3 separate regions of the Homo sapiens genome follow, and regions 1 and 3 are each linked to region 2. The links are contacts of gene promoters, found by promoter capture Hi-C in blood cells and fetal thymus (Javierre and others, 2016). All regions are on one chromosome and are shown on one strand. Each heading gives the region's core, a stretch centred on a gene start or on the middle of the fragment in contact. The rest is flanking DNA. Distances are from core to core; before and after follow the strand shown.

The links. The method cuts DNA at HindIII sites, captures the fragments that hold promoters and counts their contacts. A CHiCAGO score of 5 or more calls a contact.
Region 1: a contact is called between a fragment that was not itself captured here and the fragment with the promoter of APOO in region 2, in 16 of 17 cell types (monocytes, M1 macrophages, non-activated CD4 T cells and 13 more). The highest score is 15.6, in monocytes.
Region 3: a fragment that was not itself captured here is called in contact with the fragment with the promoter of APOO in region 2 in 1 of 17 cell types (activated CD4 T cells); the score reaches 5.8 in activated CD4 T cells.

What each region holds. Positions count from the first base shown.
Region 1 is chrX:23,723,405-23,726,423 of GRCh38, forward strand. All of the region lies in intron 6 of ACOT9 (acyl-CoA thioesterase 9), which reads right to left. Among named protein-coding and RNA genes, the nearest start is that of ACOT9, 18 kb to the right of the region's middle. The HindIII fragment of the contact is 5,864 bases long and covers 1-3,019 here.
Region 2 is chrX:23,906,127-23,909,192 of GRCh38, forward strand. APOO (apolipoprotein O) reads right to left here and starts at 1,812. Exons shown (of 9, transcript NM_024122.5): 1 at 1,568-1,812. The coding sequence starts at 1,576. CXorf58 (chromosome X open reading frame 58) reads left to right here and starts at 1,880. Exons shown (of 9, transcript NM_152761.3): 1 at 1,880-2,203. RefSeq lists a silencer at 1,212-1,381 and an enhancer at 1,562-1,771. The HindIII fragment of the contact is 4,107 bases long and covers 1-2,042 here.
Region 3 is chrX:24,075,734-24,078,751 of GRCh38, forward strand. EIF2S3 (eukaryotic translation initiation factor 2 subunit gamma) reads left to right here. Exons shown (of 12, transcript NM_001415.4): 12 at 989-3,018. The coding sequence ends at 1,052. Among named protein-coding and RNA genes, the nearest start is that of EIF2S3, 22 kb to the left of the region's middle. The HindIII fragment of the contact is 2,776 bases long and covers 1-2,669 here.

The DNA of each region.
Region 1 (3,019 bases), core at 92-2,591, 180 kb before region 2:
AGAGATCGAGACCATCCTGGCTGACATGGTGAAACCCCATGTCTACTAAAAATACAAAAATTAGCCGGGCGTGGTGGCGTCCCAGTTACTCAGGAGGCTGAGGCAGGAGAATCAATTGAACCCAGGAGGCAGAGGTTGCAGTGAGCCGAGATCGTACCACTGCACTCCAGCCTGGCAACAGAGCAAGACTGTCTCAAAAAAAAAAAAAAAAAAAAAAAAGTTGTATGATTATATGTTGATTGGCTCCCTGCTTCCCCCATGATCCATTCAAATTTGTATCACAAACTCTCAGACAAGATATGTGGCTCAATAAATACTTGTTGAGTAAGTGTAAATCCTTCCATCTATGCACCTGCTAAAGGACACACTGGGGGAATGATAGGCTAAAGGCAATAAACTCCATTTAAAAGTCTTTGTCCAGCAAAGAAATCAGATGGCTCCAACCTATGGCAACAGGAGTAGAAATGAAAAGACTATGAGTTAAGAAGAAGGTAAACCTGAGAAGACTTGAATAAATTCAGTTTTCTAGCTTGCATAGGTAAGCGTGGTGTACTAGTCACTGAAAAAGAGAAGAGAGACTGGGCACAGTGGCTCATGCCTGTAATCCCAACACTTTTAGAGGCGAAGGCAGGAAGATCACTTGAGCCTAGGAGTTCAAGACCAGCCCAGGCAACACAGCAGAGACTCCATCTCTACCAAAAACACAAAAGTTAGCCAGGTGTGGTGGCACATGCCTGTAGTCCCAGCTACTCGGGAGATAGGTAGGAGGATTGCTTGAACCCAGGAGGTCAAGACTGTAGTTAGCCATGATCATGCCGCTACACTCCAGCCTGAACAACAGAGTAAGACTCTGTCTCAAAATAAAAAGAGAATATAGGAAGAAAAGAATGGGCCATTTTCAATGCGTTGAATTTGAAGAGCCTATGGCACATCCAAATGAAGGTATTGGGGAGGGCACAGTTGTTCACACCTGTAATCCTAGGGCTTTGCAAGGCCATAGCAGGAGGATCACGTGAGCCCAGAGCTTGAGACTAGCCTGGGCAACAGAGTGAGACCCCTGTCTCTACAAAAAACTTTAAAAATTAGGCCAGGCATGGTGGATCAAGCCTGTAATCCCAGCACTTTGGAAGACAGAGGCAGATGGATCACTTGAGCCCAGGAGTTCCAGACCAGCCCAGGCAACATGGTGAGATCCCGTCTCTACAGTAAAATACAAAAATTAGCCAGGCATGGTGGCGTGTGCCTGTGGTCCCAGCTACTTGAGAGGCTAAGATGGGAGGATGCTTGAGCCCGAGATGTCGAGGATACAGTGAGTGGTGATCGCACCACTGGACTCCACCCTGGGTGACAGAGCAAGACCCTATTCCAAAAAAACAAAACAAATTAGCCAGGCATGGTGCAGTGTGCCTATAGTCCCAGCTACTCAGGAGGCTGAGGCAGAAGGAACACTTGAGCCCGCAAGTTTAAGGTTGCAGTAGGCTATGATTTTACCACTGCACTACAGCCCGGGCAACAGAGTGAGACTGTCTCTAAAAAAGAAAAATAAATCTAGTAGCTAAGAGGAAAAATTGATTGAAACTCAGAAAAGCAGGCCAGAAAATGTAGCTTTGTAAGTATTCAGCATACTGATAGCAACTGAAACACTGGGAGTAGATGAGTTTATAGAGAATCTGCAACGTCAACCCAAAAAAGGGCAGAAGGGAAGGGTAGAGAAGAGACGGAGGAAAATGTAATATAAATGTAGTTTTTACCACTGATCAGTACACTTAAAAATGATAAAGATGAGCCAGGCGCGGTGGCTCACACCTGTAATCCCAGCACTTTGGGAGGCCGAGGTGGGGGGATCACCTGAAGTCACGAGTTTGAGACCAGCCTGACCAACATGGCAAAACCCCATCTCTACTAAAGATACAAAAATTAGCTGGGCGTTGTGGTAGATGCCTGTAATCCCAGCTACGTCGAAAGCTGAGGCAGGAGAACTGCTCGAACTCGAGAGGCAGAGGTTACAGTGAGCCGAGATGGTGCCACTGCACTCCAGTCTAGGTGACAGAGTGAGACTCTGTCTCAAAAAAAAAAAAAAAAAAAGATAAAGATGGTAAATTTTATATTTTAACCTCAACTGAAAAAATAGGGCTGGGCGCAGTGGCTCACACCTGTAATCCCAACACTTTGGGAGGCCGAGGTGGGGGGATCCCTTGAGTCCAGCAGTTTGGGACCAGCCTGGGCAACATGGCAGACCTTGTCTCTACTAAAAATCAAAAAAATTAGCTGGGCATGGTGGTGTGCACCCGTAGTCCCAGCTACTCAGGAGGCTAAGGCAGGAGGACTGCTTGAGCCAGGAGGTCAAGGCTACAGTGAGCTGTGATCACGCCACTGCACTCCAGCCTGGGTGACAGAGTGAGACCCTGTCTCAAAAACTAAATAAATAATTTTAAAAGATTTAACAATTTTATTGTTAAATTTTAAAATGCCTTAAAATTTAATTAATATGAACAAATTATAAAATTCAAAAGGCCGGGCGCAGTGGCTCACGTCTGTAATCCCAGCACTTTGGGAGGCCGAGGCGAGTGGATCACCTGAGGTCAGAAGTTCGAGACCAGCCCGGCCAACATGGTGAAACCCCGTCTCTACTAAAGATACAAAAAATTAGCCGGGCGTGGTGGTGTGTGCCTGTTATCCCAGCTACATGGGAGGCTGAGGCAGGAGAATCCCTTGAACCCGGGAGATGGAGGATGCAGTGAGCTGAGATAGCGCCATTGCACTCCAGCCTGGGCAACAAGAGCGAAACTACAGCTCAAAAAAAATAAATAAACAAAATAAAATAAAATAAATTCAAAAAATAATCAGTTTTTGAAAGGGCAGAAGACAAAACCCTGGGGATAACCTACATTTAAGGGATCAACAGAAAAAGAGGAACCTACAAAGGGGACTACAAAAGAGCAGCCAGAGAAGCAGAAGGAAATGTCACCAAAGCCCAAGGATGGGCTGGACGATATAAGAAGCCACAAAGGGGTCAGGT
Region 2 (3,066 bases), core at 562-3,061:
AGTGAGGAAGTCCAACCTAGGCACATGGAGGGGCACCAAGCCCCCAGACATGGGAGTGAAGCCAACTTTCAGTCAAGTCACCAGCAGAACTGCCCAGCCAACCCAGATTTTGAGAAACAATTCTTGTTTTAAGGCACTGGTTTGCAGTGATTTGTTACCCAACAATAGATAACTGAGACATTACCCATATGCGTAACTAAAGGAAGTGCTCAATTCCAATTGGAGATTGCTAAAAATAGTTATGTTTTTTCCCCATCAAAGTTCAGGGATCCTCTGAAATCTATGTGCAGATCCTTTGAGGAGCTGAGGGCCCCAGGTTAGGAACCCCTGGTTAAGCCAAGTGGATCCTGCTCTCCTTTTTACTACTTTACTACACTGTTGGTACACATATAGTTAAACTGGCCACAGCATATCTTTCCTTGTTGTAACCCTGAAATGGAGCTGAGCTCCTAGCACATAACAGGTGTTTAACACACAAATTTATCAAATGAATGTTGATTATAGGATCTGTCTTCCTGACTAAACTGTGAGCTGCCTGAAAACAGAGTAAGAGCAAATACTAGGCCTTTTCCAAGTGCTTTACACATACCAACTTACTCCTTATAACAACCCTATGAGGTAGATGTTATTACCCCAACTTCACCAAAGGAAGATAGGCACAGTGACTTGCCCAAGGTCACACAGCTAGAAAGTGGCAATGCCAGGACTAGAAGGCAGAATGCATGTTCTGATTTTACAGCCTTTATTAACGTACCCAAAGCACATTGCAGAGCTCAATAAAACTTTTAAATGAATAGTACAATTCTGAGATTTCATTAGCACTATTTTATGGGTACTATGCTTCTTGAAGACTCAATTTTGTAGATTAATTTCTGGTAGCCTGTGATTTTTTATGACAAAATACATATAATTTACTTTTTAAAAAGTAGAATAATGGCTTTATGCTAAAGTGCAGATTTTCGAAATTAAGTCTTCATCGTAAAAGTCGATTTTTTTCCAAAGGACACGAGTTCACAAAACGCAGGGAAGGGGGTCCACTGGCCCGTATTAAATAATGTTCCCTGAGGAGTGGAGCAAAGCTCCAGCTTCCCTCGTCACCCAGCCATCCCACCCCAGCCTCCCCCATACCCTGCACAGCTTCTCCTAAAATGACCCTCCCCCATCCACACATCAGGTTCTGAAACCTGACCCTGCCAGGCAACTAAAGCCGCGAACCCCACAGTGCCCTGAGCTGGCCTCACCCTACCCACGATCCCAAGAGGGTACTAGCCGAGGGGATGGGTACTTTGGGGGAAGGCACTTTAAATTTTCAAAGTGTTTAATTCACGAAAGCACAACCCAAAGGGCCGCCCCCACCCACCCGGGGGTCTCCCGCCTCCGCCCGGCAGCCGCTCATCCCCAGTAGACCAGTGAATGAACCGCGGGGCCGGGACGCAGCCGGCCCAGTGGCGGGAAAAGCCTCGGGGTGAGCCAGGCCTGGCTGCAGAGAGGCCCCAAGAGAGCGCGGGGAGGGCTCGGGCGGCCGGGAGGGGGCGGTGACAGCTGTGACTCGACTCCACGCTCTCACCTTGAACATGTCGCTGGCAGCGGAGGCTCCGGCAGGGTCACCCCGGCCTCGGCCACGCCCACTATAGAGAGGTGACTACGGAGGCCCGGTAGGGCCTTGATTTCTCCAACCGCAAGCAGGCAGCGGTGCGGGTGACGGCCGTACTGCAAACTCGGTGCGGCGAAGGTTTAGTTCAATCACCCGGTTCTAGAAGCCGCGTCGCTGAGCCGCAGCGCGTCGCGCCCGGGCAGCGGGTGAACGCAAACCCCGCCCTCCAGGAGGCTCCGCCCCTGCGCCGGCGGTTGCTAGGCGGCAAGAAAGCGCCGGCTCTGTGTGGACGGTACGCGGAGGCGCGAGGAGGGAGGCGCCTGGCGTTGCCGCGGCGCTGGGAAACTGTCTTTGCAGCGGCGACTGGGCGCCCAGCGGCGTGTACTGGGATTTCTGTGAGCAGAGGCTGCCGAGAGGGGGCGCTTGGAGGGCCACCGGCGGCTTCGAAAGCTTCGCAGCCGGAAGCCGCCGGTTGGCGGCCTGGATTTACCTTACGAAAGGTTTTAACCAAGGACTTGAGGTTTCTCAGGTTTTAAATTTAAACTAATATGCTGTGTCCTTTAATCGGAAAAGGCTCTGACCTTATTTTTTCCCGTTAAGAAACAAGCGGTAAGCCTCCTCTCTGGAAATCAAATGTTTGTCCCTTAATACTTGTAGAAGTAACTGATAATGGCAATAATTATCTTATTAACAAGAGTAAACAAGCACTGATACAGCACTTTGATATGCGCAGCCCTGATCTAAGTTCTTTATTCACATTCATCTAATCTTTCCAACAACGGAAGTAGGTGGGCATGATTATTATTCCCAATACATAGATGAAGAAACTGAGGCACGTAGAAGTAATTTGTACAAGACCACATAGGAAGTGGGAAGCTAGGATCCAAACCCATTAGTCTGCCTTTGAAACCTGTGTTCTAGCCAAAACAATTGTTGCACTGTCTCATAATGAGGATGTATTTCCTATTTCATTCTGTATTTCTGCCCTAATCCTATAAAAAGTGTAAGCCCCATCCAGGCGAGCATCTGGAAAAATTTAGAATTTGTACAGTGACGTGCCACTGCCCTCCAGCCAAAGACCACTAGGGGCACACCTGTAGTTGAAGAAATTGGGTTTCTCATTGCTGCAAGGAGAACGCACACGTAGGAACACAGTGACATATTTCAGTAAAAGAGTTAGATTTATTATAGGATTTGGGCTTTGGTTCGGTGATTTTGGGGCGAGTTCAAGGAAGCAGGAGCTTTGCTCTGGATCGGGTGTTGTTAGGAAGCAGTGGTAACACCAAGGCCCAGCTGTGACTGCCAGCCTTGGTGTTAGTTAAGCCCAGCTTAGCTCCCAGATGTTAAGGGCTGCTTTTCTCTTTCTTAAGAGGATTGTATATTCCAAGGCATCCCCAAGGAGAAATACTGAATAGACTCAGAAGGCTCTCTGCATCAGCAGTGTAACGTCACACATACATAAAAATGTGAAA
Region 3 (3,018 bases), core at 32-2,531, 170 kb after region 2:
AATTATTTATTTTATATTTTTTAGAGGCAGGGTCTCTCTGTTGACCAGGCTGGAGTTTAGTGGCATGATCATAGCTCACTGCAGCCTCAGTGTCTAAGTAGCTAGGACTATTGGCTCACACCACCGTGATCAGCTAATTTTTTTGTTTTTTGTAGACACTTGGTCTCACTGTGTTGCCCAGCATGATCTCAAACTCCTGGCCTCAAGCCATCCTCCCACCTCAGCCTCTCAAAGTGTTGGGATTACAGACATGAGCCACCCCGCCCAGCCCTGTTTCCTTTATTAAGGCTTCCATGCTACTGTGCCCACGATGGTCTCATCACTTGTCCAGGAGATTTATCTGAATTATTGCCCTGTAATTTAGAAAGTTAAATTTTTGTTGTCTCTTAAGTAAATAATTATTTGTGGTGACTTATGCCCTTTTGATTTTACTGTCTTTTGTGATTATATTTTTTTGCTATTACAGACACACGACTTCCAGTGTATTTTGAAATAGATTTAAGCAATAAACTTTCAGTCCAGGCACGGTGGCTCATGCCTGTAAGCCCAGCACTTTGTGAGGCCGAGGTGGGCGGATCACTTGAGGCCAGGAGTTCGCAACCAGCCTGGCCGACATAGTGAAACCCCATCTCTACTAAAAATACCAAAAAATCAGCCGGGCATGGTGGCGCATGCCTGTAGTCCCAGCTACTCGGGAGGCTGAGGCATGAGAATTGTTTGAACCCAGGAGCCAGAGGTTGCAGTGAGCCGAGATCGTACCACCGCACTCCAGACTGGGTGACAGAGTGAGACTGTCTCAGAAAAAACACACAAAAGCAAGAATAAAAAAGAATCTAAGAATATAGTGTGGGCTTTCTTTATGGAGGAGCAGGCTTTGGGAACAAATTTGAATTCAGAAGATAAGCAGGTAAAATTTATCACAAGATTGTGTGGTAATGAGAGTGAAGTGGATGTAAGATTTATGATTTCTTTTATTTTCATTTTGCAGTTTAATTGGTTGGGGTCAGATAAGAAGAGGAGTGACAATCAAGCCAACAGTAGATGATGACTGAAGAATACCAGTTAAATAATACATTCGGATGGATTTGGAAGTTGGAATTCCTCTTAACAACCAAGGGGTTTATTTTCAAAGCAATATTGGGGAATTGATTTCACAGTTCGTTACCTTAGTAGGTAACGGTAAGGTTATTCTCTTTTTTTTTTTTTTTTTTTTTGGTTATGAAAACTTAGGGACTAAAATTAATATAAAAATTGGCATAATGTTGGATTGAATCTACATTTTGGCAGAAGTTAAACATTCCCACATAATGTCAAAATTATACATCATGCAGTTCTGTTTTTTTGTTTGTTTTATTTTGTTTTGTTTTTGAGTCTGGCTCTGTCACCCAGGCTGGAGTGCAGTGGCGTGATCTGCAACCTCTGCCCCCCGGGTTCAAGCGATTCTCCTGCCTCAGCCTCCCGAGTAGCTGAGATTACAGGTGCGCGCCACCACACTTGGCTAATTTTTGTATTATTAGTAGAGACGGGGTTTCAGCATGTTGGCTAGGCCGGTCTCTCCTGACCTCAGGGTGATCAGCCCACCTCGGCCTCACAAAGTGCTGGGATTACAGGCGTGAGCCACCTTGCCCAGCCCACATCATACAGTTTGAAATGAAACTTTGCCACAACCAGCCTTTGCTGTAGCACACACATATATCACTGAACCTGTTTGAAATAAAGTTTTTTTTCTTTTTCATGATTCGTCTTTGAGTACCTCCAGGCTGAAAGACTGTTGTACCAGTAAAAACTTAAAGGCACAAATTCTCCTTGAAGACCTTCTCCCTTTTATGTGGCCCCATATTTTATGTTGCTTTATCTTTGAAATTTTGCATGAAAAGGAAATGAATGGATTCGAATGAAATTGTCCTTTAGAGCATGATTACTTGTTCCCATGGACAAATATTTTTCTCCCCTTGCTCTTCCTGGCCTGAAACACGGGAAACCAGAGTCAAAAGTTATCTCCCTCTCCCTGTGATGCCTTGAGATTTTTTTCTGCGTTGTTTAATGCCTGAAATCCAAGTCTTCCTCCATGGGAAAATACTGTTATACCAAATAATTCTAGATGAGTAACAAAGATCTTTTTAGGCCTTCATTTTATGTTTTTTCTTAACTGTTATATTATGATTGTGACATAGATTATACTACTACTAATTTTTGGATGTTTCAAAAGGTCAAGAAGTAAAAGATGTTAGAAAGCAATGAGTGAGTCCTTTTGATTTTTAACTTATTCCCCATGTCCCTATACTTCGTGTGCTTTTCCTTTTTTTTTTTGAGACGGAGGCTCACTCCGTCACCTAGGCTAGAGTACAGTGGCACGATCTTGGCTCGCTGCAACCTCTGCCTCCCTGATTCAAGTGATTCTCGTGCTTCAGCCTCCCATGTAGCTGATATTACAGGCACTTGCCACCATACCCGGCTAATTTTTGTATTTTTAGTAGAGATGGGGTTTCACCATGTTGCCCAGGCTGGTCTTGAACTCCTAACCTCAGGTGATCCGCCCGCCTCTGCCTTCCAAAGTGCTGGGATTACAGGCGTGAGCCACTCTGCCCGGCTTATTTTTCTTTATGTTTTTGCTTCGTAAGAGGTTCTGTTGAGCAGTGATTTGCAACTCTTGCTGACGTTGCTGGGGAAGCTTTAAAAAAAAAAAAGATGCCCCACAGAGATTCTGATTTTAATTGTTCTGATTTAATTGGCTTGGAGTAGAATTCAGGCATTGATATCTTTAAAAACTCCCCAGTGTTGAGAAACAAATTTAGAGAGTTGAGAAGTAGGTATATTAAATTACAGAATCTTACTGAGTTTTGGTAGACTGATAATACAATTTGCTTTGCTTTTCTTAAATTTGCATTGAGATGGGATTTGAAGCATATTGTGCTCTTGTGAATGTTGAAGTTGCATTGTAGAAGTTTAGAAGCTCTGGCTATGGGTTGCCTAAATTGATGTTTTGAGGAAGCATATTAATGTTATAAACTTCGCTGA